2 separate regions of the Homo sapiens genome follow, and region 1 is linked to region 2. Evidence: promoter capture Hi-C in human tissues and cell types (Jung and others, 2019). All regions are on one chromosome and are shown on one strand. The core of a region is centred on a gene start or on the middle of the fragment in contact, and the rest is flanking DNA. Distances in the headings are between cores, read along the strand shown.

What was found. Contacts are between HindIII fragments. The study calls those that stand out against the background at their distance.
Region 1: a contact is called between a fragment that was not itself captured here and the fragment with the promoter of FSBP in region 2, in 1 of the 25 tissues and cell types used here (mesenchymal stem cells).

Annotation. Positions count from the first base shown.
Region 1 is chr8:93,997,362-94,000,490 of GRCh38, reverse strand. No RefSeq gene overlaps it. Among named protein-coding and RNA genes, the nearest start is that of PDP1, 82 kb to the right of the region's middle. The HindIII fragment of the contact is 7,356 bases long and covers 1-3,129 here.
Region 2 is chr8:94,435,680-94,438,814 of GRCh38, reverse strand. FSBP (fibrinogen silencer binding protein) reads left to right here and starts at 1,871. Exons shown (of 2, transcript NM_001256141.2): 1 at 1,871-2,320. The coding sequence starts at 1,947. The region is part of intron 3 of RAD54B (RAD54 homolog B); the gene reads left to right. The HindIII fragment of the contact is 647 bases long and covers 1,520-2,166 here.

The DNA of each region.
Region 1 (3,129 bases), core at 212-2,711, 440 kb after region 2:
GCCAAGAGTTTAGCAAACAAACTGTAAGTCTGCCTTAGTTTCACTCAATTTGTTCTTCCTGCTATAAGCTGTGAGTAAATCAAAACTACCATTTCTCCCAACCTAGTCTGTGTTAGTAGTTCTTCCTTGGCATAATAGCTCAGTGCAAACACCCTTCAGTTAATTTGTTGAGTGCCAGAGGGTAGAGGGTTAGCCCCATGCATCTCTTCCACCTGGGCTACCAGCGATTGAACTGGAAAAACCAAACTGAGACAGTGAAGGATAATTCACCCTTCTTCTTCCCTTTGCACCCCACCTCCCTTCCTTCCTTTTCCTTTATTTTCCTTTCTTTATCTCCTACACGTAGTGGACATGACTTTTCAGTGTATCAGGCAATTTCAGTTAAAATAACCCTGTAGTGATTTACAACATAGAGTAATGGGATGAGAATGAAAAGTTCTGTTTTGGATGCTTCTGGAAATCTTAAATCTCTGAGTCTTGTTTGTACATATCTCTAAAATGATGCAGAAATAAAAACCTATCACATTGCTTATCTCAGAAGAAATATAGTATTATAGCCCTACACTTCACAAATGTATGTGTCTTATCATGACCACACCCCAACTTAAGCTGGAAGGAGAAGGCATTTTTTCATTCATTTATGTATTTTTCTGTAAATGCTTTGTCAAAAAATTAAAAGACAATCCTTGAGGACTAATTGGGATGATGTGGAAGGATTATCCAACTCTTCCTGCTTGAATTCTTGGTGAATGAGGACATCAGGTCAAGTAGCATTTCCTCCAGAGTTGTACAAAAGTGTAACACATATATGCAGCAGGTTCCTAAAGAAAAGGAGTGTGCAACAAATCTACTTCCACGCACATTTCCTCACACTTGGGATTTCTACGACCCTCTCCCATTGGATACCCTCTCATTCTGTGTCCAGAGTTGGTTCCTTCCAGTGCATTCGTGGTCTCGCTGACTTCAAGAATGGAGCCGCAGACCTTTGCAGTGAGTGTTACAGCTCTTAAAGAAGATGGCAGGGACCCAAAGAGTGAGCAGCAGCAAGATTTATTGTGAAGAGCAAAAGAACAAAGCTTCCACAGCGCAGAAGGGGACCCAACCGGGTTGCCACTGTTGGCTGGGGTGGCCAGCTATTATTCCCTTATTTGTCCCCGCCCATGTCCTGCTGATTGGTCCATTTTACAGAGTGCTGACTGGTCCATTTTACAGAGTGCTGATTGGTCCATTTTACAAACCTCTAGCTAGCTACTGAGCGCCGATTGGTGTGTTTTTACAGAGCACTGATTGGCGCATTTTACAAACCTCTAGTAGCTACAGAGCGCTGATTGGTGCACTTTTACAGAGCACTGATTGGTGCATTTTACAAACCTCTTGTAAGACGGAAAAGTTCTCCAAGTCCCCACTCTACCCAGGAAGTCCAGCTGGCTTCACTTCTCAATTCCTCATATTGCCGATGGCTCTCATTGACTTCGGCAAATATATTTCTATAAGCAGCAGTTAGAAAGGAGCAGATTATAAACTTCACGGTTCTAGGTGTGTGGATAACCAGAATGAATTATACAAGGAGGAAAACTGTACCATCTATTTCCGTGTCAAGATCCTTATATGCACATGGTTGGAAAGGGTTCCCAGGCTGCCATCTTAGATCTGGAATAGAGCTTCTGCTCTGTTCCCCAAGGGCCTGCAGAAGCAGGTCGTGTTGATGTCATGCAAAGATGACTCAGTCTCTGGCCAGAGGTCATCTTGATGTCTCTTGGGTGAATCTTCAATAAGGAAAGATTTGACCTGAAATTCACAGTAGAGGCAAACAGAAGATTTTCATTTCATCTTTACACTTAGGGGCACTCGGCTGTACTGTTTTCTCATCTCTACCCACTCATGTATGTCACATGCTCTCTCCCTCTCTCCCTAGTTCTTTGTTTCCTCACCATTTACTTGAAGTGCTAAAATCCTTTCAAAAATTACTGTTAAATAAAAATAATGAGAAAATGGAAAATCACTACCATACTCTATCTAGGGAGTGACTAGCAATTCTGACAATATCAGATAAATATACGTAGGTTTTATCATCATTGTATATCATACCAGTAAACCACAGCTGGCTAACGTCACACCTACTTTCAAAATGTAAACCTTATAGTAATAAGTGTTCCACGATGACATGGAAATATTTTCATTTCCTAAATTTCCTATACAGATGATGCTCATACAGTTGATATTTCCGTTGTCCCAGATAATAAATTACTCCACCAGGTTACATCCTTCATGTACACAAACTTCCAGGCTGTTTGTCTCAATACTCCCTGCAGCTGTTACTTAGGTTTTTGCTACATAATTACTGTTTATTCAAAATCTCTCACTTATGAGGGGATTTGCCCACAGAGCTCTCACATTCAGCTTTCAAAACGTGATGACGCTTATGTTTGGTTCTTTTTGCTAAATATTGAAGGCAGTTTTAGTCCTGACCAAAATATTTGCACGATGCTAATTACATTTCTGTGGACCATCAAATTGAAGTCTGTGGAAGAATAAATGAAAAATGTGCATCAAACTTCATCATTGCAATTTCCAATTGTTTAGAACAAAGGATCTTGAAATTGGAGGAGGTACAAATATGAGCACCCCCCTGCTTAGCAGCAGTAATAATAAAACCAGCTGACAAATGTTGAGTGCTCACCATGACCCAGGCCTGCTCTGAGTGCATCCACATTTAATCTCCAAACAGCCATATGGCATAGGTAGTAGCATCAATCCGTTTTTAAGATGAGAAAATCGAGGCACAGAGAAGTTAAGTCATTTGCCTAAGGCCCCTCAGCTAATGGGTAATCAGCCCAAATTCAAACCTAGGCATTGCATCTCCAGAGCTCATGCTCTTATGAAAGCGATTTCTCCATCTTGGTATATTTTTAGAAGTTCAACATCCTAGGTACTAGACAAAGGAAAGAAAAAGGAAGACAGAAGCCTCTATTCCTGCCCTGTTCCTAGGTCCCCTTTCATTCACCGACCCCCACCCCCCATTCTTTACTATCCCCTACACAAACGGGGAGAAGTTCCCACAGAGCACGCAGCGCCATAATAGCTGCTTCTCCTACTATAGGTGATAGGAAAGATCTGGTCTCTGTCTTC
Region 2 (3,135 bases), core at 622-3,121:
TCACTCTTGGCATTTTAAGTCTTAAAAAATTTTGCTAATCTAGGAATGAAAATCATTTTTAGTATACATTTCCCTGATAACTAGTGAGATTGAACATTTTTTCATATTTTAGTAGTGTTTCATTCTTAACATAATACCTGTATTTCTTCTGAAAATAACAAAATAATTATCTAAAGTATATACCCTGTGTTCTGTAATACCTGTATTTCTTCTGAAAATAACAAAATAATTATCTAAATAAAGTATATACCCTATGTTCTTTCTTTGGTTCTCTTTTAATGTTCCAAAAGCTCAGAAAATGCTAGAATGATTTTGAGTACCTGTGGTCCAGTTGTTGTTGGGGCAGGTCGATTTTCTTTTTGCATCTCTATGGACAAGAATCATTTGCATTACTGATTTCTACAATTTACAGAGCTGTGAAACTGCTCAAAGACAATGAAAGGGTAGAACTATTATGGAATCAAATTACTCAGTAGCGTATACCAGACAACATCTAGCATTCCGTAGAACATCCAGCAATCTTTCACTGTTTTCTGAAAGATAATACACTTAAAGCTTTTAACACATTGGCTCACAGTGAGAGCTCAGTAAATGTAATTTGCTTCTCCATTGTTAAAAGAATGAAAAACAAGATAATTGAGAATTTATAGCATTTCTGTGGAACTACAGTTCCCTGGATAGGTGCTGTATCTAGATTCATTTTTGATTTCATTGGGTCTTGCACAGTGCCTGGGAGCATTTATATACGTGGTCAGTAATTAAAAACAATTTATTTTTCCTACCTCTTAATAACTATCACAGTTGTTCAGTAATAGTTTTATTGGATAGAACTATGTTCAAGTATGTTCTAATTTATTCCCCTATCTGGAAAAATATGTATATTGTGAGAAAATAGGTTTGTCTTGCTTACATTATTATGTATCATATATTTTCATACTGGGGTTAACAAATATATTCTAAGCACCGAAACTGGTGGCCTTGAAAATGGCTAGACTAGCTGTTTCCTTTCATAGTCCAAACTGTGTGAATATAGCTAAATAAAAAATCTGGCTCTATTATAATAGCAAATGTGATTTTGTATGTGGAGTCTTAAGGCGTGATTATACTGTTTCTCACCATGAACAGTGATTTTTTACACATGATAAGGCAGGCTAGCAAATTCACATACATTACGGCTAGAATAATCCATTGCTTTAAAAACATGATTTTTACCTGCTTTTTAGATTGAGTGTTCTATAAAAATTTTTTCTTAAGTGAAAAAAATATGCAGAGGCTAATGTAGACTGTAAAATGAAGGAGAAGCTTAGCTTTACTGTGGAGTCTGGGTCTGGGTGTAACCTAACTAGCTAGAGGATATGCAATTCCTGATTGACAGCAGATCCAGCATTATGCAGATTTTGTAAGGGAGAACACTCAGCTCAGAAACAGTGATGAGAGGCTCTGTTAGGAATTACTACATTCACTACTCATATCTTTTAGTTTTCTGTCTACTGGATTTGTAAATAAATAGCACAAAACAGTTCCTCTTTTGTTTTTATTAAAGTGATACTGCAATGCAGTTCAGTCTGTCAGCTAGGCATACATGTGTGAAATTTGATATTCTCACTAAATTAGCTAATTTTTAGCTGTGTTCCATGCTTATCTCTAGACCTTTGTGTATTAAATCCTGTCTCGAGCTGTTCCCTTTATACACAAGTGTGTTTTGCTTGTGCCTTCCTGTCTTCTTCAGTGAGAAGCTTTATGTAGGTCAGGCTTGGCTTAAGCAGATTTCCTGAACCTGCGTCAGCTTAAGCTGGAGGAATTTTAATAAACCCTCCCCTGTAGGCGTGGGCCTAAATGAGGCTAGCCTAGTTAAGCCTGATCTTTTTCTGTTTGTGAAAAGAGCTGAGCAGAGCTGAAGGCTGCATGGTGGTTTCAGAAACTGCCTACTTAATTTGAAAAGAACAATGGTAGGAAAGGCTAGATCTTCCAATTTTACCTTATCCGAAAAGCTTGATTTGCTAAAGCTTGTGAAGCCATATGTGAAAATTCTCGAAGAACACACTAATAAACATTCAGTAATAGTAGAAAAGAATAGATGTTGGGATATCATAGCAGTTAACTATAATGCAATTGGAGTAGACCGCCCTCCTCGAACAGCACAGGGCCTACGCACCCTTTATAAAAGGCTCAAAGAATATGCCAAACAGGAGCTATTGCAGCAAAAAGAGACCCAATCAGATTTTAAAAGCAATATTTCTGAGCCAACCAAGAAAGTTATGGAGATGATTCCCCAGATTTCCAGTTTTTGCCTGGTAAGAGACAGGAACCACATACAAAGGTAAGCTTTATTTTGTTTTGTTATGGAAAATTATGGCGCCTCCTATCTATTGGGCTTTGGCTTAGTCGTGATAGAGATATGCATAGTAAGCATCCCCACAACGGGAGCAATGAATAGTGTCTTTGTTTTGCATTTTTTAAAAAGAGAAAAGTGAGGCTATGAGGAATTTTTCTGTTGCATTTAAGCTACTTTTTACTGTCTTCCCCTCCCCCTTCCCTCCTGTAGTTTCTAAAAGTAAAGGTTAGGGAGGAATAAGTGGGTTGAAATTTGTGACATCACTTCATAAACTTCTTAAGCTTTAAAATTAAATTATTTAGTTTGCTTCTGAGAGATACTTTTTTTCTCATTTAAGATTACATTTCACTGGAATTTTCAATTTTATATAAAATTTATATAAAGTTAGCAGTTTCTAGAGAAATGGAACCTTGCTTTTTTATGAATTGTCATTGTCTACACTTATTGAATATATGTTAACTAACAAATATAAACAAAATCAATAAGTAAACTTGTTAATGGCATGATTGTGTATATGAAGACAGTTTAAATTATTTTTCTAACACGTTTAAAATAAAGATGAACACAACTAAAGGGAGTTAATGCCTAATTAGGGATTCAGTTTACTTAATAAAATTAAAAGTTTTTTGTTGTTGTTGTTTTTATTCCTTAATAGTCTAGTTTCACTTTGATCTTGGGTCGTATAGGAAAGAGTAAGCTTTCTCTTACTGCTTTGCAAGGATATCAAATTATGAATTTTAAAATACCCCTAAGAGCAACTGGGTTTTTTTAGAGTTAGAAGCAATTTTTTGGTTAAACTT